Regions from separate parts of the Homo sapiens genome. Here all the other regions are linked to region 5. The links are contacts of gene promoters, found by promoter capture Hi-C in blood cells and fetal thymus (Javierre and others, 2016). All regions are on one chromosome and are shown on one strand. Each heading gives the region's core, a stretch centred on a gene start or on the middle of the fragment in contact. The rest is flanking DNA. Distances are from core to core; before and after follow the strand shown. Region 1 overlaps LOC112268038 (a long non-coding RNA gene). Region 2 overlaps SLC44A1 (solute carrier family 44 member 1). Region 3 overlaps SLC44A1 (solute carrier family 44 member 1). Region 4 overlaps LOC112268038 (a long non-coding RNA gene). Region 5 holds the start of ABCA1 (ATP binding cassette subfamily A member 1). Region 6 overlaps SLC44A1 (solute carrier family 44 member 1).

Region 1 (4,086 bases), core at 7-2,506, 310 kb after region 5:
GGCTTTGGTAAGGAATATGGAAGACTCCTGTCAATCATACTTAGGCACCATTTTTCTGAATTGGAGAGTTGATGAGTAGGGGCATAGCTCTAACACCTACTGTTTTTATTGTTTAAGCTTTCCTCCCTTTAGTCCTCCCTGTAAGATACCACCATAGTGATCATTTTAAAGCAAAAAGCCTACCGTATTACTACTTTACTCAAAACCCTCTGAATTTCTCTTATCTGTTAGGAGGTACAAATTCCAAGGCCTATGAATGCCAGAGGGTAATGTAGATAGGAAAAACTGGCCCCTGTCAGAAGAGACTTTAGAGAGTGTTTGAAACTGTGACAAACAGAAGAGCTCAAGCCAAGATCTCCCAACCTACATGTTCTTCTTACAGTGTGACATTGATAATTCCTCAAGGGTAGGGTTTGGAGAGCACCGATGGTCCCTTCCCTTGAATCTGAATGGGCCCGTGCCTATAGCAAAAGTGATGCTATGTGCTACCTGAGGCCAGGTTATAAAAGGTAATGCAGGCTGGCCACGGTGGCTCACACCTGTAATCCCAGCACTTTGGGAGGCTGAGGTGGGCAAATCGCCTGAGGTCAGGAGTTCAAGACCAGCCTGGCCAATATGGTGAAAACCCATCTCTACTAAAAAATACAAAAAATTAGCTAGGCGTGATGGCACATGCGTGTAATCCCAGCTACTTGGGAGGCTGAGGCATAAGAATCACATGAACCCAGGGGGTGGAGGTTGCAGTGATCCAACATCACGCCACTGCACTCCAGCTTGGGCAACAAGAGCAAAACTCTGTCTCAAAATAATAATAATAATAACATTAAATAAATAAATAAGTAAAAGGTAATGCAGTGTTAGTCTGGTCCTCTAAAGATGCTCACCCTGGCCGAGCGTGGTGGCTCACGCCTGTAATCCCAGCACTTTGGGAGGCCGAGGCAAGTGGATTAGCTGAGATCAGGAGTTTGAGACCAGCCTGGCCAACATGGTGAAACCCTGACTCTACTAAAAATACAAAAAGTGTGGTGGCAGGTGCCTGTAATTCCAGCTACTCAGGAGGCTGAGGCAGGAGAATTGCTTGAACCCAGGAGGTGGAGGTTGCAGTGAGCCCAGATTGTGCCTTTGCACTCCAGCTTGGGTGACAGTGAGACTGTCTCAAAAAAATAATAATAATAAAATAAATAAAAATAAAAATAATTAAAAAAAAAAGATGCTCACCCTTAGAACTCAGCTACCAAGCTGTGAGGAAACCCAGGTCATGTGGCAAGGCTCCAAGTAGGTATTCTGGCTGATGGCAAACAGTTAGTATCAACCTCCGGGCATGAGTAAACTTCAAGATAACTCCTGCCTCATAGCTAACTGCAATCACCTGACAACCCTCAAGCGAGAACCGCTTAGCTGAGCCTACTCTGTTCCCCCAATGGTGAGAGTTGATGACTGCTGTTGTTTTAAGTCATCAAGTTTTAGTTTGGTTTGGGATACAACAACAGATAACTGGAACATGCAATAGATCTTATTGATTTCTAAGCCTGCACCTTTGCTTAAGTCATTTTATACCTGAGAGTTCTCTTTTTCTCCCATCATCTTCACTTATCCAAAGCTACGTGTTAAGGACCAGCTGAAACACAATTTATGAAGCCTTTCCTAATCATTGCATTTGTGACCTGTTCTTTCCCTGTACTCTGGACACTGTATATGTTCTTCATGATTAACAGGTCATTCAGGAGAACCCCCTCCCTGTCCTTAATAAAATAAAATGTTTTATAATATTAAAATATTTAAATATAGTTTTTTTAAGTACATGCTTTTGTCAAAACTACAAAAAATTCAAAAGTTATAATTCAGAACATGTCTCTCTTCTGTCTGGTTCTATTTCACCACGATTTATCCCCACCTCTTCTCCAAAGGTTACTGCTGTTAACAGATTGGTACATATTCCTCACAACCTCATCTACACAAACATGCACACACGTGCTTGTGCACACACAGTTTACATCACACACACACAACGATTGACATGAACAGGATTCCATCATAATCCTGTTTTGTAAACTACTGTTTTTAGTTGATGGTATATTTTAGTTATGCATAGCCCATGTCATTAAATACAGATTGCTCTTACTTTTTAACAGTTGCATAGTGCTTCCTATTATTTAAGCAATTACTTAACCAATCTTCTGTTTATGGAAATTTAGTTTTCTCTCAATTTGTCCTTATTAAAAACAAAACTGTATTGCTGTTGGATATTCTCAGGGTAAGAACTGCTGGGTTAAAAGAATACACCTTTTACATTTTGATACAAATTCTTAAACTTCTCCCCAGAAAGAGGGTAACTATTTATATCACCATTAATCATGTATAGAGTACTGTGACCTTCTCTCACACTGGTTATTATTAAGCTTTTAAATCTTTGCCAATTTGCTAGGTGAGGAATGATGTCTCCTAATTTTTAAGCTTACAGTTTTATTATTAGTAAGGCTGAGCAACATTTCACGTTTTATTAGTTCTTGTATTTCTTTCACTGTGGATTTTGTCTGTTATGTCCTTTACTCATATTTCTGTGGAGTGGGTTTTTTTTTCTTTTTTCTTTTGGTTTTAAATAGGAGCTTCTTGTGTATTATGTAAACCTTTACATAGACTTTGCAAGTATTATTTATCTCTTTGTCATTTGTATTCATTTTGTAGTATCTTTTGCATGTAGGAGTTTTAAAATGTTTATGTAGTTAATCCTATCTGTCTTTTACTATGGTATTAGGTTAGTGTTATCCAAAGAAAAGCCTTTTATAATTCCAATATTAGAAAAATTATTATTATTATTATTTTTTGACAAAATTTGGCTCTATTGCCTAGGCTGCAGTGCAGTGGTGCCATCTTGGCTTACTGCAACCTCTGCCTCCCAGGCTCAAGCCATCTTCCCATCTTCAGCCTCCTGAGTAGCTGGGACTACAGATGCACACCACGACGCTCGGCTAATTTTTGTATATTTTGTAGAGACAGGATTTCGCCATGTTGCCTAGGCTGGTCTTGAACTCATGAGCTCAAGAGATCTGCCTGCCTCAGCCTCCCAAAGTGCTGGGATTACAGGTATGAGCCACTGTGCCCAGCCAGAAAAATAAACCTATTTTATACCAGAAGTTTTACAGTAAAACAACAGCAACAACAAGTATTTTAAAAAGTAGTAATCTAATATTTAAGATAAGCTTTCCTTTGAGACATTCTAGGCATTTATAAATCTAAATTCCTAGGGACTCATTGACAAAATTCATTCATTCATTGAATAAATATTTATGAAACATTCCTGGATACCAAACTGTTTTCTAGGCTTTTGGTACACAGTGGGAACTTGTCTAGTGGAAGTAAGAAAGGGTTAATAGGGAAAAAAATGTAACAGCATTTTTTAAATAAAAAAAAAAAAATCAATCTTTGTGGACCTCCTTTACGCTTATATAGTATGTGGACTTTTCCCTTTCATTACATTTAAACTATACTCTGTTCTTGGTTTAAATATCTTTCCACCCCTTAAGAATGATCTAAAGGCAAGGAGTGTACTTCGTCTTTGAATCCCAGGCACCCAGCTAGGTATTTGGTTCATTATAATGGCTCAAGACATGCACTGTTAAATAAATAGATTTCCCTACTTTACAAATTTCTTCTTTCCTTCTCAAATTAATACTCATCACCCTGCTTCCATTTCCTCTCCTTCCTCATCCCAGCATCCCAAAATGAAAAACCAACACTAATTTTATGTTGGAAACAGCTCAAATCCCTGAGAACTGATGCATGAGCACAGGCTACTTAATCAAAATCGAACATGCTTAGCTCATAGAAAGCAGTCAATATAAAAATTATTAAATGAATTGAATGACTACAATGTTTAAAAAAGTCATTCAGAAAAGTAGTAGGAGGAAGATACACCCCTCTAAACACAAGTTTATAACAAGCATTTTAAAGAGAATTCATACATTGTTTGATCTTGCAACAAAAATCCAAGTGAAACCACAAATAAAAGCCAGAGTTATTAATAAATATTGGAGGAACATCAACTTACAAGTGTGACCAGAAACAAAGTTGCAGAGCTAAGGACTT
Region 2 (4,093 bases), core at 364-2,863, 340 kb after region 5:
ATCTATGTAATCAGTGGTTAACTTTCACACGCTTCTTTCCTGTTGGAATAATAGATGAAAAGACCAAGCGTGGCTTTAAGTCCTTCTGTTTTATAATTCCTGGACACATTTCTCAAATTTCTGCTGCAGGTTTTCTTGTTATCCCATAATCTTGACAGGTTTTCTCTCACCTCTTGGATTCCTGCTGTCAGACCTTGTTAGGCTTGTTAATTTTCTGTATAGCATGGAATGATGGTTTTCTAGAAGGTTCTGACAAACCCTTACTCTCATTTATCTTATTGCTCCTCTGGTACAGAATCTTTCATTCCTCTCCTATGTTCCCTTGTATCTTTTTTTCCCCCTAAATTACCTCCCTTAATTCCAAGTGGGTGGAAGGAAAAGGAATGGAATTTGGTCTTAAAGGATGAATAATGACTTCGTTGGAATATCAGTAAAGGAACTCTAGTCTGCGGGAATGGTACGAGCAAACACATAGAAGTGTGAAATGTGTAATGTGTTTGGCAAAAGTGGTTTGGGATGGCTGGAGTGTGTGTTTATCTCTAGTGTGAAGTCTGGCCAGAAAGGTAGATTGTGATCTTTTTCTTTTTTTTCTTTCAGACAGAGTCTCACTCTGTCACCCAGGCTGGAGTGCAGTGGTGCAATCTCAGCACACGGCAACCTCCACCTCCCAGGTTCAAGTGATTCTCCTGCCTCAGCCTCCCAGGTAGCTGGGATTATAGACACCTGCCATCACGCCTGGCTAATTTTTGTAGTTTTAGTAGAGACGGGGTTTCGCTATGTTGGCCAGGCTGGTCTCAAACTCCTGACCTCAGGTGATCCTCCTGCCTCGACCTCCCAAAGTGCTGGGATTACAGGCGTGAGCCACTGCGCCTGGCCTGATTGTGATCTTAAATGCTAGTTCTAGGGTTATGGAAGTCTGTACTTTGGTCTCATAATATTTTTGTTTCTCTGGTGTAGAAATTATTTTGTTATGTTTTACATACTAGTTGAAAGCAAGAGTCTGTTTTTATTTTTTCCTCATCTTCAACAGTATCTAATAGAGTAGCTTGCACATAATAAGAGTTCAAAGTTGAGTTGAATTGAATTCTGATAAAATGGTTTAATTTTCCCAAGAAAATCTAGAAGCCTGGACTCTTTCTACTGAATTAATCAAAAGGAGAAAATACATAACTTTTTTAATTGTACACCTTATATGAGTCTGTACTGTAGATATTCATTTTTTTGTCTTCTTTATATCTCCTACCTCACTTTTCCTTTTTGTAATATGTAATCACCACAACAGGCAGTCTTGGGATCAAGGAGAGGGGCTTGGGAGATATTTAACTCCTCAGTATCTCCATCAAGTCCCCATTCTTTGATAGGACAGTTAATCTTTTCATAATCTTCAATGCAGTGCTATGCAGAGGCATGTTCTTGTACCTCCTTCCAATCAGAGAACTGCGTGTGTCCCTCAATGCAGAAAATCTGGAACCACCATCAAGAACAAACTTATATACCTTTGAGAAAGGCTGAGAGAAAAAAAAAAAAGCCGTATGTATTAGGTATCACTATTCTCTTTACAGGTGAAAAAGCTGATTCATAAAGGTTAAAGGTCTAAGATTATTTAGCTAGTAAGCAAATGAGTTGGAATTAGAACACAGGTCTTATATTATTTTCTTTCCTCTATTTTTTAGGTATCCCAAATTCCACTTAAGGTTGATGAATGGCCTACTGGTCAGTTGAAAAAATTCAATTTGTGTAGCATTGTCTAGCACAAATGCTGAAAGTAGGTCTCCTCATCTGCTAAGGGATATAAGCAAATTCAAAGCCTCTGGCCTTTCTTGTGACACATGCATGAAAGTAGGTAATAAAAAGAAAAGTAAATATTATTTTATGCCACAGTAAGTATAATGTTAAAATAATTTCAGTACGTTTAATTTTCTTTCATATATATATATATATGTATGTATATATAATTTTTTTTTTCTTCCTTGAGATGAAGTCTTGCTCTGTCACCCAGGCTGGAATGTAGTGGCGCGATCTTGGCTCACTGCAACCTCCGCCTCCCAGGTTCAAGCAATTCTCCTGCCTCAGCCTCCCTAGTAGCTGGGATTACAGGTGCCCACCAGTACACCTGGCTAATTTTTGTGTTTTTAGTAGAGACAGGGTTTTGTCATGTTGGCCAGGCTCATCTCGAACTCCCGACCTCGGGTGATCCACCTGCTTCGGCCTCCCAAAGTGCTAGGATTACAGGCATGGGCCACTGCGCCCAGCCCGATAATTTTTATTACAGTAAGTTTGATTAGAGTATGAGTGACCAAAATCTATTTCTAAAACATAGAGTTATTGGTGAATTAGAAGGGGGTGGATGTTATTCCTTATTGTCAACATGGTTCATGTAGACTGTGGAGATGAATGGATTACATTTGGCTTTTATTAATGCTTACAAGCTGTATTTTTCCTTTTTTGCTTTTTTCTAGTTCTTATTGAACAGGATTGATTTGAAAAATTCACATGTAAACTCAGGATGCTGGGCTCTTATATCATTTCATGGTGGATGATTTGTGTAAAATTGCAACTGAGTGAATTTCATTCAAGCAGTAGGAATCTTGAAGATGTGAGTCCATTACTAGCAAATGTTATGTTCTGAGTATATTGTCTGAGTTTTTTTTTTTACCTGCAGTCACAGAGCAGTGACAGTTCATACCATTGTACATAGCCGTATCATACTTCATTAAGCAGTTTTGTATTGCTCTAAAATCACTGTTTTTGCTTTTTTCCTCAACAATATGTGTCTGAGTTTTTTTTCTCTTAGTAGGATTAATAATAATCTACTTTCCCTGGCTGTGATGCTCTTTAGAGATCAAACAGCATTTCTAAGTTGCAAGGAATCTTCCACCCTGTTGTCTTCTGCTTTTACACACCCACACAGTCACATGTTAATGAATGTGATAGTTCTGTAGGTTATTATTTCTTTATGCATATAAATATGTTTCATGGTACTTAAAGACAGGGTAGGGTAGTAATACTGACACTGATGTTAGAGGGAAAAGTAGTGAATAAAGCCAATAAAAAAACCAGTAAAGGATATATCCATCTGTGAGGTTTTGCTTATGCTCATTATAGCAAACTCTTCATTCATTCACTAGATAAACCACTAATTCGCATTTTACCAGATGTTCCCCTTAAGCAATATGAAGCTACTCCTTTTCCGCTTTGATTCTATTTTGCAATATATCTTTTCTATCAGCATTAGATTCAAAGTTACCCCTGGACTGTGCCCTCAGTTTACTCATCTGGCCTTTGTCACTGAACAAGAATTGTACTCGTGGAGGTGTATTGGCCTTTTTGAATGAGCGTCTTCACTCCTGCCTCACTGCTTTTACTTATGATGTTCTTGTTTGGAATTTTTCTTCCTCCTATCTGAATCCTATCCTGATGAGCCAGTTCATATTCCCTCCTTTCAAGAAGCCTTCCTCTTCAGTCCACACTGACCACCTCCTTCTCTGAACACAGCATAAATTACCTTGGCTATTGTTAACTAAGTGTTTCATGTCACCTACCTATAGAAATATTGAATCTTTTAAAGCATAGGATGAGGACCTATCATTCTGATCATGAAACAAGTTCTTCTGCCCAGAATTTAATAACATATTGTTGAACAGTATGGGTAGAGTAAATAACAGTAACACAACTATGTATCCATTGTTTACTTATTTGCTATATGTAGTGGTATGTATTTTACATATACCGTGGTTAACCTCACAACTGTTACAGGTGAGGAAAATAAGGCACACATAGATAGGGTTAAGTGATTTGCCTGTGTCATGTAGTAGCTTCTTTTTAGTAGAGCCAGGAACTCTTAGTTATCTCATCCATTCCAATCTGTGAGTTTCTCAGGTGTTTCTATCTTTCATAACCTTGATCCTATTGAAAAGTAAGCACCTGTACTTTTAGAGCAATTATATAATTTGAAATCCACACATGTGGACCCATGTGAAGTTTAAATTCTTAACAATAATGATATAAAACAGTTCAATAGTATTATGATTTCAAATTTAATTTGAAGTCAGTTTGAAAAATAATAAATTTTTTTCTTCAGAAGTACAAAGTT
Region 3 (4,073 bases), core at 979-3,478, 370 kb after region 5:
CTTATGAAAATTATGTGAATATATGCTTACTTTTTTTCTTTGTTTGTTTTTGAGATGGAGTTGCGCTCTTGTTGCTCAGGCTGGAGTGCAATGGCGCGATTTTGGCTTACCACAACCTCCGCCTCCCGGGTTCAAGCGATTTTCCTGCCTCAGCCTCCCAAGTAGCTGGGATTACTGGCATGCACCACCACACCCGTTTAACTTTGTATTTTTAGTAGAGACGGGGTTTCTCCATGTTGGTCAGACTGGTCTCGAGCTCCCGACCTCAGGTGATCGCCCGCCTCGGCAACCCAAAGTGCTGGGATTACAGGCATGAGCCACCATGCCTGGCCTGTGCTTACATATTAAGAAAAGAATCTGTAGTTTTCATCAGGTTATCAAAGGATACATAGTTCAACACTATGGTTTTAGAGGGAGAGAGAACTAAGCCTGGTTGCACTCTATATATACTAATTGTACCAGAGGGCTCCCTTATCTCCAGCCCCCTCCTGCTCATGCCCTTTCCTCCTGACAAGACTTTTCCAAATAGCTTCCTGGATCTTGTCACGGAAGCCACTGGAGGCCTGAACCTTCTCAGAGGAACCTTTCCCATAGGTTTTCCAAGGATACCTTCTTTCTCCCTTCACTGCTTACTGTTTCCAGGAGAGGGTGTGAGACTCGGGCATTTTTGTTCATTAGAAAGCTCAGGGGGGTTATTTCAGTTAGATTTCCATTAAAAGGGATTTGTGAGCTGACCCGAGATCCTAAGACTATTGAAATAAGAAAAAAAAAAATGCAGTTGGAATTCCAGTCAATACTTTGCAAGTTAACTTTTAGAATGCCGCTAGTTCTGTAGTTCAGGATTCTCTGTGTTTGATCTAGAAACTAACATTTTCTAGGAACAAGATGAAAATGCATGGATTGTTTAGGAGCTGCACAGATCTGTCTATAGAAACTGAATTTTTTTTTGACTTAGATAAATCTACCCCTGAATAGGAATCCCGTTTTTGTTGTTGTTGTTGTTGTTGTTTGTTTGTTTTTGAGATGGAGTTTTGCTCTTGTTGCCCAGGCTGGAGTGCAGTGGCACGATCTTGGCTCACTGCAACCTCCGCCTCTTGAATTCAAGCGGTTCTCCTGCCTCAGCCTCCCGAGTAGCTGGAATTACAGCCCACCACCACGCCCAGCTAATGTTTGTATTTTTAGTAGAGACGGGGTTTCGCCATGTTGGCCAGGCTGGTCTCAAACTCCTGACCTCAGGTGATCTGCCCGCCTCGGCCTCCCAAAGTGCTGGGATTACAGATGTGAGCCACTGGGCCCGGCCTGAATAGGAATCCATTTTGATGGGCATCTTTCCTAGAAGAGAACATATATATAAACAGCACATTCTAACTTTTTTTTTAAGTTTAGCATCTGGACACACAAAGAAAAAGCTAGCATTAAGAGTGAAGTTGGAAGAGTGTATTCATTTATTTATTCATTTTTAAAAAGCCCTCACTGAGTACATATTATGAACCCTCAGGCATCATGTTAGATGCCGAGAAATAAGCCTGGTCTCTTCCTTATGACACTCACAGTCTGCTGGGACACAGCATAACAAATAAGAATGACAATTTAGCCTGCTAAAAACTCTAATACAGGTACCAAAAAAGCGATGAACTCAGTACCGGGCCTGGCCAGGAAGAGGGGTGGGAGTAGGGCCAGTGGAGTTATTAGCTGTGGGGGTTAGCATAAACGTCACAGAAAAGGTGACAAATATTTGAGTTGTGTCTTAAAGGTTCAATAGAAACTTGTTTGGCAAAGAAGGGCTCTAGCTATAGCTGGTGTATTTGTGCCCTTCTAACTTTAACTAAACTTAGCATTTAACACTCTCTTATTTTGTATTTCCAATTAGAGCTCCAAACGAGAATGGAAGCCGCTGGAGGACCGTAGCTGCACAGACATACCATGGCTGCTGCTCTTCATCCTCTTCTGCATTGGGATGGTAAGGAAACTCTCACAGATGGTCCAAACTGGACTCATGATCCAAGGGAATGACGAGTAGTTGTTTTAATGAGGGCAGTTGTGGAATATACCAGTCCTCATACAATTCAGTGGTATTTTGTGTCACTCTTGATTTGTTTTTCTACATGAAAACTGAGCTCAAATTAAGGAGCAGCTGGGACTCATATGCCATTCAATAGACCATTTCAGAAAGCAAATCATTTGACGTAAGTCTCTGAATGTTGATCTTGATAGAGTGGTGAGCAAAACAGTGACCATGAGTCATGAGCCCTGCATATTCACCCAACCCAGTCACACCAACTTGTTGGTTATCTTTAGGGCAGTCATTTCCTCTCAGGGACTTGGTGTTCCACAGTTCTTCCTAGATGGGAGGCTGGTTGCTCACTGCTCCTTCCTCCTTCTGCCTGTCCTAGGCCCCTGCTGCCTTCTGTGTCTGCTGTAATGAGTGGCATCTTTCGATTGGAGATGAAGGGACCTGGTGGTTTTCCAACGGCCCCTGCTGCCTGCTGTGTCTGCTGTAATGAGTGGCATCTTTCAATTAGAGATCAAGGGACCTGGTGATTTTCCAGTGGGTATAGAGAATGGAGGAGCAGAGTTGCTGGTATAAGGTATTAAGGATGTGCACATTCAATTGCATACTCACTCTGCCCTACAGGAGTTTCTGACACAGACTTCAGTGGCATTAGAGTCCCTGCCAGTGTGCTGGGCTGGAAAAAACATAGAAAACTGCTATTTTTAAAGCGGTCTGATATTTAGAAGTAGAAAGGACATGGAAATCCTCATCTAGTCCATCGCCCTTATTTTACAGATTAAAAACATCAAACTCAGAGATGGAAATTACTATCCCAAGGCCACACTGCTAGTTCATGACAGAGCTGAGAACAGAGCCCAGGTCTGTTCACTTCCAGATCAATGCTGTTTTCTAACACCCCATTTCCTCTTCCTCAAGGGGACTCTGCAGATACATTATTGCTCTCTCTTTCTTAGTCTTCTACAATTCAAAATGCAATTACACTACCTCAGGCAGCCTTGTTCCTACTCATGTGTATTTTTAACCCCCTTCTTACTATACCTTTTATAGAGTTTCTTTATGAAAATCTTGCTCTTTGTCTCCTCTGACTGCCCACCAGGCCAGCGCCATTTGTGAATCACAGAACAACTGTCATCTTGGCTAATAGGCACAATTGTAGGTACCAGTTCTGCCTCTGAGAAAAGGAAAAGAAAGCAATACATTTTAATGAGATACGATAAATCCAGTAAAATAAGGAGTGTTTATTTTAAAGATAAAAGCACCGTTTCACCAAATTTAGGATATTTAGGAAAGGTCAAAATACTCATCTCCTAACTTAATGACTTAAAAGATATTGCTCAAAAGTTTACTTAGTTTAATGGAATGGCAGCTGAAATATAACATGCATGAATGTTTATGCAGCGTGTGGAGAAAAAAAATTTTTTTTTTTTTTTGAGACAGAATTTTGCTCTTGTTGCCCATGCTGGAGTGCATGGTGTGATCTCGGCTCACTGCAACCTCCACCTCCCAGGTTCAAGTGATTCTCCTTACACAGCCTCCCAAGTAGCTGGGATTACAGGCATGTACCACCACGCCCAGCTAATTTTGAATTTTTAGATGGGGTTTCACCGTGTTGGCCAGGCTGATCTCAAACTCCTGACCTCAGGTGATCCACCCATCTCGGCCTCCCAAAGTGCTGGGATTACAGGCGTGAGCCACCGCACCCTGCCATAGAAAGATTCTTTGATAACAGAATTAGTCCACAGCCTTTCCCCACTCCCTGAATGTAACCCTGGGACAAATAGCAGCTGACCTTTCAAAATTGTTTACAAAAACATGTACCATGCCACCCGAGGTGCTTTGGATTTTCTGTGCTAAAACAGGTCAGGAAAGTGCAATCATTAATGTTAATAGGCTGATTTGGGAGTGACTTGAGACTAAGGAGTTATTTGTTTACTGAAACATTTTAATGCAATGGTAATTAATATAATGTTGATTTCAGTATGATGGTAATTAAGACCCACTGTGTGTACTTTTAAATGTTGGCATAGCATTATTTGTTTTCGAATGATTCCTTTAATGG
Region 4 (3,756 bases), core at 1,124-3,623, 270 kb after region 5:
TTCTGTTTGCTCAGATTTCCCTACTTAATTTTTTACTGTAGTATACTGTATATTTTTGGAAGCTGCCACAAATCCTTTGGAGAAGAAGGCAGACATAAATATATTGTGATTTTTATTAATTCAAAGATCTATGTCGATCAATCTCAAAACTATATTATAATCAAATAACATTATACAATAACCAAAGGTGATTATTAAAAAAGAATTCCATTTCTGCTTGCCATTTTTTAAAACTTTGAGGCAAATCCACATATATAGCATACAGCACCACTTACTAAAATTCTGTTTCTTCACCTATCCATTTGTCTCGGTCTCCTCTAGTATCTTTCTCTTCCCACACTTCACAAAGCTCATCCAACAACACTCCATTCCCAACGGCTATTTCCTCCCCCTTCCCTCTCTCTTTGCTGTATTCACTTGTTATGTGACTTCATCAAGCAAGATCCCATCAGTTTTTGAAGAAAGGAGAAATGAGAAAATGTGGCTGGCCACTTGAGGACTCCTTTTGCTGGGGGAAGAGAGTAAGGCAAATAACACTCTGAAATAAATAATTTGTCTCATTACACATAAATAATTACTTCATTTTTAAAAATGTATCAGTCACTAAAGCTTTATTAGGCTTTACTTAAGGTATCATCCAAGAAAGTCAGTACTTCTGGACACATAAGGGCTGTATTAGTCTGTCTCACACTGCTAATACAGACATACCAGAGACTGGGTAATTTATTAAGAAAAGAGGTTTAATTGACTCACAGTTGCATATGGCTGGGGAGGGCTCACAGTCATGGCAGAGAGCAAATGAGGAGCAAAGTGGCAGGCAAGAGAGAACTTGTGTAGGGGAACCGCCCTTTATAAAACCATCAGATCTTGTGAGACTCATTCACTATCTCTAGAACAGCACGGGAAAGACCTGCCCCCATGATTCAATTACCTCCCACTGGGTCCCTCTCAGGATACATGGGAATCATGGGAGCTACAATTCAAGATGAGATTGGTGGGGATACAGCCAAAGTATCTCCGGGGCCTTGAGTACTTCTGAGGAGAGAGAGGAGGGAAAGAAGAAAAGATGCCATATACTCGAAAGGATGAGCCTATACTGAGAAATAATCTGCCATGTGCAAGAAAACATTCTTGGTATTCCTGCCTTTCAAAATTAGAACAACCTAAGTGTCCACTATTAGAGAAATGATTAGGTAAATTACAATCTATTCAGGAAATGGCATATTGTTCAGCCATGAAGTGTTTATTTTGTTTTGTTTTGTTTTGTTTGAGACAAGGTCTCGCAGCTCTGTTGCCCAGGCTGGAGTACAGTGGTACTATATTGGCTCACTGCAACCTCTGCCTCGCGGGTTCAAGTGATTTTCATGCCTCAGCCTCCCGAGCAGTTGAGATTACAGGTGCTTGCACCAACACCCGGCTAATTTTTGTATTTTTAGTAGAGATGGGGGTTTCACCATGTTGGTCAGGCTGGTCTCGAACTCCTGACCTGAAGTGATCCACCTCCTTGGCCTCCCAAAGTGCTGGGCCAGCTCGCCCCCCGAAGTGTTTATTTTGAAGAATGTATGGCAGCAATGAAAAAAAGTTTATGTAATAATAAGCCAAAAAAAAAAGCAAAACAGAAAATCGAATTGTGTTGTAATCTACCTATCAGTTTATGTATCTGTACCAGCATTAGACAGAGGGAAAAGCTAGCAGTTGGGTCGGGGGAGTCAGGTCAAGATAGAATCCTGAGGAACACTGACATTTATGGTATATTCCAGGAAGGCATACCTTCAAAGGAGACAGAAAAGATGAAGCAAAGAAGCCATGAAAAGGAGGGAACTAGGCTGGGCGCGGTGGCTCACACCTGTAATCCCAGCACTTTGGGAGGCCGAGGCGGGCGGACCACGAGGTCAGGAGATCGAGACCACTGTGAAACCCAGTCTCTAAGAAAAATACAAAAACAATTAGCCAGGCGCGGTGACGGACGCCTGTAGTCCCAGCTACTCGGAAGGCTGAGGCAGGAGAATGGCGTGAACCCGGGAGGCGGAGCTTGCAGTGAGCCGAGATCGTGCCACTGCACTCCAGCCTGGGGGACAGAGCAAGACTCCGTCTCAAAAAAAAAAAAAAAAAAGAAAAGAAAAGAAAAAAAGAAAAGGAGGGAACTGACAGCATGACATTATAGAAGCTGAGAGAAGATGGCACATTCAAGGGGTCTGGCACTTAATGTCCATTACCACATTTAGTCCTCACAAAAGGCTTGGGTGAAAGATCCCCTTATACCCATTTTGCTGTAAGCAAAGTAGGTTTCAAGAGGCTGAGCAAGTTGGACAATATCCCAGAGTAAGGGAGAGATGGGATTTGAGCCAAGGTCTGCCTCTAGGTATAAACCAATAAGTATCTGAGGCAAGTCTCAATCCATTTATTAGGTTGGTGCAAAAGTAATTGCAGTTTTTGCCATTATAAGTAATGGAAAGTTTACTTTGCCAAGGTTAAGGACACACCTGTGACACAGACTCAGGAGTTCCTGAAGACGCGTGCCCAAGATGGTTGAGGTACAGCTTCCTTTTATACACTTTAGGGAGATATAACACATCAATCAATTGAACCATTTACATTGGTTCAATCTGGAAGGGTGGGACAACTCAAAGAGTGGGGTGCTTCTAGGTCATAGGAAGATTTAAACATATTCTGATTGGCAATTGGTTGAAAGACTTATTATCATTAGAAAGAAATGGCTGGGTTACAATAGGGGTTGTGGAGACCTAGGTTTTATATCTCCAAGTAGCAGGCTTTAGAGAAAATAGACTGTAAATGTTTCTTATCAGACTTAAAGTCTGTGTTGATGTTACTGCTGGAAGGGTATAATGAGGCATGTCCAACCCCTACTACCCATCATGGCCTCAACCAGTTAAATTTTAGGGTGCCCTGGCAAAGGAAGGAGACCATTCATATGGTGAGGAGGGCCTTCAACTTTTATTTTTGGTTTACATTCGCAAAGCATGTGCTCTTTGCTTTATACTAGGCTGCCTCCCTGCCATGTTAGAAAGATCTTCTGAATTTATATGAGGTCATGGTTTAGGTGGGATTAGTCAGTTGTATTTTCTCATCAATACATGTATTTTTATTTTTATTTTTTTTGAGATGGAGTTTCAGTCTTGTTGCCCAGGCTGGTGTGCCATGGTGCGATCTTGGCTCACTGCAGCCTCCGCCTCCTGGGTTCAAACGATTCTCCTGCCCCAGCCTCCTGAGTAGTTGGGATTATAGGCGCCTGCCATCATGTCTGGCTAATTTTGTTTTTAAATTATTTTTAGTAGAAACACGGTTTCGCCATATTGGCCAGGCTGGTCTTGAACTCCTGACCTCAGGTGATCTGCCCATCTTGGCCTCCCAAAGTGCTGGGATTACAAGTGTGAGCCGCTGTGCCTGGCCAATACATGTATTTTCCATTCAATACATATGGGGGTTCATTCTCTCACCCCTTATCAGAACAGAGGTCAGGGAGGAGGGGAATGGACCTGCAGGGTGATGGATTAGTATGGGGATTGCAAACTCCATTCCCTACAGGGCAGTTAGGGTAAAAGGGGAAGTAAAATTAGAGCAGGCGCATACTGTCAACAGGGGCAGGAATGTAGGAATGTGGCCCACTGTTTTCAGATATCCCAATTTGTTTAGGGGAGCCCAAAATCTGGATTTTATCTTTCTTTGCAAAATTGTTAATTTTTTATGTTGGGAACTAACTAGAAACTTTTTTTTTTTTTTTTGAGATGGAGTTTC
Region 5 (3,610 bases), core at 966-3,465:
GATGAAAACTTAAGGACTTTAAGTTTTGTTTGAAAAGAAGATCATAATTTAAGTCTGGGTTCTAAACTACGGCCGTTAAAAAAAAAAGAAAAAAAAATCAAGAAAATTCCACTCTTTAACTTGGGGGAAATTTTTGTGAGGTTCTCTTCGTGGGAAGCAGGGATTCGGCCATGGAGGGCAAGTGACTTGCTGATTTCAGTACCCAGAAGGTTTTTTTAAATATGAAATTTGTCCACTATGAGATGAATGTGTATATACTACCCATTCTCTTCTTGAAGTGTCAATGAAAAGTCGGATTTTAAAAGCTAATGGTATCAGTGCTGCAAAGGCAGGCCAATTACTGCCAGTGCCAGACAACTTTTTTCTTTGTTTATTTTTAATCTTATTTCTTTGCTTCTTTTTGATAAAAGATATACCTAAAGAGGCACCTACACATAACCCTGGCACCGTCCGCCGCCCCAAGAACCTTCCTGCTTTACCAATGGCCTGGGAGTTGGCAAACACGCTAACAAAAAAAAAAACCAAAAAAACAAAAAAAAAAAAACAAAACGGGCTTTCGCCTCAACCTCATAGTTCCTCCCCGTCTGCAACCACCGGTCTTCACCGGATTCACAGTCGGAACCGCGAGCAAAGACACCTAGTAGAGCCGGCCGATTCCTAGGTCCTCCGGCCAGGAGGCGCTGCGGGCCAGTCTCCGGGGGCCACCGCAGCCCGCGCGCCCAGCACCCCCACCCTCACGGCAGAGCCCAGCCCAGCCCCGCGGCGGAGCTCCGAGTTCTGCGCCGCCCGCCGGGGTTACTCCCGGTCATTCCACGGCACCACCTCGGCCCAGCTTCCCCATCTGCGCCCAGGCAGAAGCTGCCCCGAGAGACCAGCAGCAACGGTCTGGAAGATGGGGCTGCAGGGAACGTGGGAGAGGGAGGATTGGGCACCCCACCTCCGGGTCTCCGCAGGCTCTCCTAAGTCTTGTTTTTAAAAGAAACAAAACTCGGCCGCGCGCGGTGGCTCACGCCTATAATCCCAGCACTTGGGGAGGCCGAGGCCGGTGGATCACCTGAGGTCGAGGGTTCGAGACCAGCCTGGCCAACAAGTTGAAACCCCGTCTCTACTAAAAATACAAAAATTAGCTGGATGTGGTGACGCGCCTGTAATCCCAGCTACTCAGGAGGCTGAGGCAGGAGAATCGCTTGAACCCGGGAGGCGGAGGTTGCAGTGAGCGGAGATCGTTCCATTGCACTCCAGCCTGGGCGACAGACCGAGACTTAAAGGAAAGAAAAAAAAGAAAAAGAAAAGGAAACAAAACTCGTCCGCGCTCTGCGCCAGGGACACCAGCTCAGCTGAGCGCACGGAGACTGTAGGCAGGACCTCCCTACCCCTCAGGTCAAACAAAGACCCAAGGCCTCTAGTGAGCAATAGCACCACGGACCGTTTGGGACACCTCCAACTCGAGTTCCCGGATTCACAGTCCGGGACTGTGCCGCTCCAGTCCCGGGGAGCATATAGCCAATTCCCAGGTCAGAACAGACCAGCTTCTTAAGAACCGAGTGAAGACTCAGTGCTGGCATTTGTCTCCGTAGGTACTGGCCGACCTGCAACCAGAAGGGTTTCTAGCCAGCTCAGGGCCCTCCGAACAAAGCAGCGCTCGGTGCCGGACCTGCAGCTCTCCCCACCCGGCAGCAGCGCCCTCAGCACGCCCGGGAACCCCCGACCCCTCTGAGCCCGGGGTACTGCGCCCGGGTCTCCACGCCCAGAGATGCTCCCCGGTCTCCACCGTCGGGCAAGCCCCAAGCGCAGCAGCGCAGAGTCCTGGGGTCACCAGAGCTCGTACTAGGACATCGTCTCCCCATTTAACACCGCCTCCGGTCCCATCTGAGTTGCAAGTGGTGGGGATGTGGGGCTCCGGATCAAAGTCCCCGAAACCGAGCACTTCCCGAAGCCTCCTTGGCCTCGAAACAAAACAATAACGCCCAAGTAAGTCACTGGAGAGCCTCTTACCTGTTTTCCACTTTTGTGTTTGCGTCTCTTTCTCCTACCCCTTGACAAGCCTTCCGGAGAAGGGGAGAAAACAGAACCGGGGAAAAAACAAGGAGCAAAGCGCCCTGAGAACCGGCTCTGTTGGTGCGCGGAGCTCCCCGCCCTGCCCTGCCGCAGCCCGGGAGAGAAGGGTCGGCTCGGCTCTGCGGGTCCCGGCCCCACTCACTCTCGCTCGCAATTACGGGGTTTTTGCCGGGACTAGTTCCTTTTATAGATTCGGCTGCACCGAGCGCAGAGGTTACTATCGGTCAAAGCCTGTGCTCTCCCTCCTCCCCGCCCCGTTCCCGGCCTCTGTTTATGTAGTTCAGTCACTCAGCAGAAAGCACGTGGAGCCGGGGCCCGCCCCTTAAACGGGCGACGTTCAGCCGCCCACGACACATCTAGGGAGTTGGGGGGAGGTGGGTGGGGTGGGGGTGGAGGGTACAGCAGGTGTCTTAGGGTCCGCGGTCTGCGTCCCCTTCCCCCGCCCGGGCCCGCCGGCCTAAGACGCGCGGGAAGCGCTGGGCTCGGGGCTGCGCCGCAGACTCTCTAGTCCACGTTCCCGGCAGCCAAGGGCACCAGTGGAATTTGCTTCCTCTAAATCCTGCTTTCCGCAATTTTTTTTTCCTTTGTTAGTTTCCTCAGCCGGAGGGAGGGATTGGGGGAGAGAGAGCTCTAGGCTGAATCTCCCTCAGGACGCCAATCATTTTGTCTTGTCTTTTGTTTCCTTTCAAAGGCCTAGGCTGGGGTGAGGGGAAGGCGGACAGTCCTCTGGGTAATGGGCTGCTTTTGTTTTCCCCCCACAAACCTGGACTTTGATTTTTGATAGGCGACCTACTGCCTTGGAGATTCCCAGCCTGAGCTCCCCAGGTCCCTCAGAGGACCCGAGAGGAACATCTTACTGCTTCTCTTCATAAATTGAGAGGAAGGAGGCCACAAAAACAAAAAAAGAAACAAACAAACAAAAACACAGAACAATATGGACCAGCCCCCTTTTAATTTCATTATATTGATCAGCCTCCCTGTGATAAAAACACAGGACTTGTATTTAGTTTGTATACATTTGTGAAGTGCAGCCAGAGAATTGCAGTCGTGTAAAATTATGTAGCCACTCCAGACCTCCAACTTATCTGTTTGCCTTTGGCTGTAGGGGAGCAAAACTACCCAAAACACTGGAGGGGCAAAAAAAAAGGCAAGAGTAGGAATGCAGGCCTACACACCATATGTCTAAATATTTAAGTCATCCATCAAGCCAACAAACTAAATGTCACCTTATTCTGGCCAAAACTCAGGTCAAACTGTGAAGAGTCTAAATATGAATCTGCCCTGAAGGGCAGATTCATAGAAGACTCAGGACAGACCCGTAGAAGAGGCCCAAGCAGGCCCTGGAAGTGCACGTGGAGGCCACAAGGTCTCCTACCTTGACAAAGATACCTTTGTAGCCACCTTGAAGGGCAGATTCACATTTAGACTCTTCACAGTTTGACCTGAGTTTTGGCCAGAATGAGGTGGCATGAGAGAGCTGCCCCAAGCCTACTTCTCTTCCCACCTCCAGCTCCATCATATTCCAGAACTCCCACCACCTGCATACAGACAT
Region 6 (3,564 bases), core at 642-3,141, 390 kb after region 5:
ACAGCATGATTTTATTTATAAATGTAAAAATATACATGTACATAGAAAAGTATAGAATGACATGAAAATGTCAACAGTGTGATTAGCTGTTGAATTATGGATGGTTTTAATTTTATACTTATCTCTTTTTTCCTAAGTTTTCTATAATCGATATATACATTACTTGGGTAATGGAAAAAAAGGATAAAAAGACATCTGTAGTCCCTGTGCTTGAAGACCTTGCATTCTAGTGGGGAAGACAAAATACATAGAGAAATTATGACAGTTCAGTGATGAAATGTCATGTAAAAGTGTTGTCTATTGAAAGCTGAGTGACTCCACTTTCCTGAGTTCCTAACAGCAGGCTGGTGGGGAGAGGAAAAGAAGGCAATTTGGTGATAGTACTGGAACCACCATTGTATTACTTTCCTAATGTTGCTGTAACAAATTACCATAAAGTAAGAAGCTTTAAACAATGAAGTTCTGTAAATCGGAAACTGAAGCAAATTCATTGCTTTTAACAACGAAGTTCTGTAAATCAGAAGTCTGTGCACAGCATGGCTTAGCTGGTTGCTGTGGGTTTTGAAGGCTGAAATCAAAGTGTTGACAGGGCTGTGATTTTTTTCTTGAGGTTCTAGGGAATGAATCCTCTTCCAAGCTCATTGAGGCTATTGACAGAATTCAGTTTCACATGGCTGTAGGACTGAGTTCCTATCTCCTTGCTGGCTATAAACTGAGAGTCAGTTTCAGCTTCTGGAGGTAACATATATTCTATAGCATATATTCTATGGCTCATGACTCCCATCCTCCAGCAAAATTGGGTCAGATTCTCAGTCTTGAATCTCTCTGACCTCCCCTTAGGGCAGCATCTTGGTTGCAGGTTGTACATATGAGTTGAAGACTCTCAGCCAGTGACAGGGTTTCAGGGACAGGGTAATTTTAGGCAGAGTTTTGGAGCCTCATTTAGGTATAAAGATGCTAACTAAATTTTCAGAAGGTAAGTTTATGGAGATGTCTTTGAAAATATTTTTTGTCATATTTTGGGGGTTCAAGGCAGGGCTTGCATTTTATCAGGGTAAAGTCAAGTAAAGTCGGCTGTGGAAGGATGGTACACATAATGGTGATTGGACGAAGAGGTGACTAGATGGTTATGAGGGTTTGGGGACTGAGAGGTGGCTCCAGGAGCCCATCTTCTAGTGAAGATGGAATTCTGATTAGAATACCAAGCTTGGTTCTCACTGTCTGAGGAATAGTGTGGTTGAGTCTACAGGTTGGAATTCTTGTTGGCCATCCTAAAGCCCAGAGAAGACTGGCACACACAGGAAGGTGCTCCTGACTCTATCTTGTACTCCTGACTCTATCTTGTGGAGTTGTAGAAGCTCAGAAGAAGAGAGGTATACATTTGTCCATTGGACTAATTCTTAAGTTTTACAGAGTATTCTCCCTACCTGTTGTCAAGGTATTCCTCAGAGCAGCCCAGTAGATCACCTACTTCTTCCCACACTTAGGGATACGTTTAAACAAATGGAGATGCTCTAAGCCTTTGATGAATTTGGCTTTGCTTTGAGGGAAAGCACTCCTCTCTCTGTCTCCTGTCAGTACTCTCTGATTCTAACTCTAACCTACTGTCACTCCCACTTTAGCATAAAGTGGAAAAGAGCAGCCTAGATAGATACCTCACATAAACTTGTATTTGAGAACTTATTTCCTCCCAAATTTACAAGCATTTGGAAATAGTAACATCTGTGACGTTCTAAATGAAAACTTATTGTATTATTTATACAGGTTTTTTTGTTTGTTTGTTTTTTGAGATGGAGTCTCGCCCTGTCACCCAGGCTGGAGTGCAATGGGCAAGATCTCAGCTCACTGCAACCTCCGCCTCCCGAGTTCAATAGATTCTCCTGCCTTAGCCTCCCAAGTAGCTGGGATCACAAGCACCTGCCACCACACCCAGCTAATTTTTGTATTTTTAGTAGAGATGGAGTTTCACCATGTTGGCCAGGCCAGTCTTGAACTCCTGACCTCAATGTTCCCCCCACCTCAGCCTCCCAAAGTGCTGGGATTATAGGCGTGAGCCACTACACCCGGCCTATACAGTTTTTTTCCTAAACTTTCATTCCCTCTCATGGAAAATATTAGAAGTTGTAAAGACGCTAACTAAATTTTCAGAAGGTAAATTTATGGAGATTTTTTTGTCATATTTTGTGACCATACTACTCTTAAGCCTAAATTTTTAAACTCTTTACAAAGGTAACATCTGTATTGCTAGTGCATTTCTGCCTTTAGGATAATACTTGCTGTGGAAAATACTGCGAGCAATTTGAAAGAGGAGATCCAGCTACGTACCTTAGAAAATGCGGGAGTTCAAAGTCAAAATGTTTTGCCAATTCTAAATAGGGAAGTGAAAACCTGTTTAACAGAATTAGATGACATGTATGCAGCTAGGCGGCAAGGAAGGGATGATTGGTTTTTCTCCGTGTTGTTTGACTAGGTGTATATGTTTGCCATGTCTAAGTTAAACAGCTGGTACAAATGCTCAATCTGAAGTCTCACTACTTGAGTTGGTTCTAGGTTACCTGACACCTGTGAAGATTTTTACAAGCTTTAGTCATTGTTCATGAGCTGATAGACAATGACCTTTGTAATATACTTCAGGTAATTATTAACTGCTTCAACTATGAGTTTGATGGCAATCAAGTGGGTTTGCCACCCACTTGTGTTTACCTGGGTGTCAGAGTTGAGGGCATCTAAGAAGTTAGAGGGCACACAGTCCACACACAACCACCCTTATATCTGACCCCAATTGCAAGATCAGGGGTCCATAAAACCACCTATTTCCTGGCAAATTATTTGCCAGGAAGACTTGCAGAACTCACTGAACGCTACTGTACTCATGGTTATGGTTTATTTTTAGGAAAGGATATAGAGTAAAATCAGCCAACAAAAGGAGTGCATGGGGCAGAGCTTCCATTGTTGTCTCCCTTGGGGAGAGTGGAGTACACGGAGTCCGAGCACAGTACTTTCTCAGTGTCAGTGTGTGACAATACACAGAGTATGGCTAACCAAAGAAGCTCACCTAAGCCTCAGTGTTCATAATTTTTGTTGGGACTCCATTATATGGCTGACTCAGGCTCCAGTCTCCAGCTCCTCTGGTCAATTTGATACCATGTGATCCCAAACTCTTAATCTAAACAACATTGTTGGTCTTTCTAGGGTGGTCGACGCCCACCCTAAATAGTATGTGGAGTGGTCTACCCCAACCCTAAAACACATTGTTAGACTTCTGTGACCCAAGAGCACCAAGTAAACAAAGACACTCCTATAAGGCTTAGAAATTAACTCCCAGAAGTGAAGGGCAAAGTCCAGATCTCTTTCTGAGTAAGGTTAAATTCTTACTACACACTGGGGCTCATTAAATTAAATTGGATTTTGTAAAGTCGATTTTCAGGAAGAAATTTAAAAATATTTCATTGTTATAGTTTTGTTGAGTTATAACTTACATATAGTAAAATTTACTCATTCAAGTGTAGTTTGAATTTGGTAACTATATGCAGTCATGCATCCTCCATCACAATCCATACTTCT

The links. The method cuts DNA at HindIII sites, captures the fragments that hold promoters and counts their contacts. A CHiCAGO score of 5 or more calls a contact.
Region 1: a contact is called between a fragment that was not itself captured here and the fragment with the promoter of ABCA1 in region 5, in 15 of 17 cell types (neutrophils, monocytes, activated CD4 T cells and 12 more). The highest score is 18.5, in neutrophils.
Region 2: a contact is called between a fragment that was not itself captured here and the fragment with the promoter of ABCA1 in region 5, in 3 of 17 cell types (neutrophils, monocytes and M2 macrophages). The highest score is 13.0, in neutrophils.
Region 3: a contact is called between a fragment that was not itself captured here and the fragment with the promoter of ABCA1 in region 5, in 3 of 17 cell types (monocytes, neutrophils and activated CD4 T cells). The highest score is 12.0, in monocytes.
Region 4: a contact is called between a fragment that was not itself captured here and the fragment with the promoter of ABCA1 in region 5, in 3 of 17 cell types (neutrophils, monocytes and M2 macrophages). The highest score is 13.3, in neutrophils.
Region 6: a fragment that was not itself captured here is called in contact with the fragment with the promoter of ABCA1 in region 5 in 2 of 17 cell types (naive B cells and monocytes); the score reaches 5.5 in naive B cells.

Annotation. Positions count from the first base shown.
Region 1 is chr9:105,237,188-105,241,273 of GRCh38, forward strand. All of the region lies in intron 1 of LOC112268038 (a long non-coding RNA gene), which reads right to left. Among named protein-coding and RNA genes, the nearest start is that of SLC44A1, 5.4 kb to the right of the region's middle. The HindIII fragment of the contact is 2,282 bases long and covers 116-2,397 here.
Region 2 is chr9:105,271,038-105,275,130 of GRCh38, forward strand. The region is part of intron 1 of SLC44A1 (solute carrier family 44 member 1); the gene reads left to right. Among named protein-coding and RNA genes, the nearest start is that of SLC44A1, 28 kb to the left of the region's middle. The HindIII fragment of the contact is 5,424 bases long and covers 1-4,093 here.
Region 3 is chr9:105,297,350-105,301,422 of GRCh38, forward strand. It overlaps SLC44A1 (solute carrier family 44 member 1), which reads left to right. Exons shown (of 16, transcript NM_080546.5): 2 at 1,871-1,960. Among named protein-coding and RNA genes, the nearest start is that of SLC44A1, 55 kb to the left of the region's middle. RefSeq lists an enhancer at 1,627-2,826. The HindIII fragment of the contact is 7,345 bases long and covers 1-4,073 here.
Region 4 is chr9:105,194,654-105,198,409 of GRCh38, forward strand. It overlaps LOC112268038 (a long non-coding RNA gene), which reads right to left. Exons shown (of 3, transcript XR_002956866.2): 3 at 595-3,756. Among named protein-coding and RNA genes, the nearest start is that of SLC44A1, 48 kb to the right of the region's middle. The HindIII fragment of the contact is 3,532 bases long and covers 608-3,756 here.
Region 5 is chr9:104,925,940-104,929,549 of GRCh38, forward strand. It overlaps ABCA1 (ATP binding cassette subfamily A member 1), which reads right to left and starts at 2,216. Exons shown (of 50, transcript NM_005502.4): 1 at 1,996-2,216. LOC105376196 (a long non-coding RNA gene) reads left to right here and starts at 850. Exons shown (of 3, transcript NR_188620.1): 1 at 850-1,971; 2 at 3,569-3,610. RefSeq lists silencers at 610-849, 2,186-2,375 and enhancers at 1,526-1,585, 1,906-1,985. The HindIII fragment of the contact is 9,744 bases long and covers 1-3,610 here.
Region 6 is chr9:105,316,411-105,319,974 of GRCh38, forward strand. The region is part of intron 3 of SLC44A1 (solute carrier family 44 member 1); the gene reads left to right. Among named protein-coding and RNA genes, the nearest start is that of SLC44A1, 74 kb to the left of the region's middle. The HindIII fragment of the contact is 1,375 bases long and covers 1,205-2,579 here.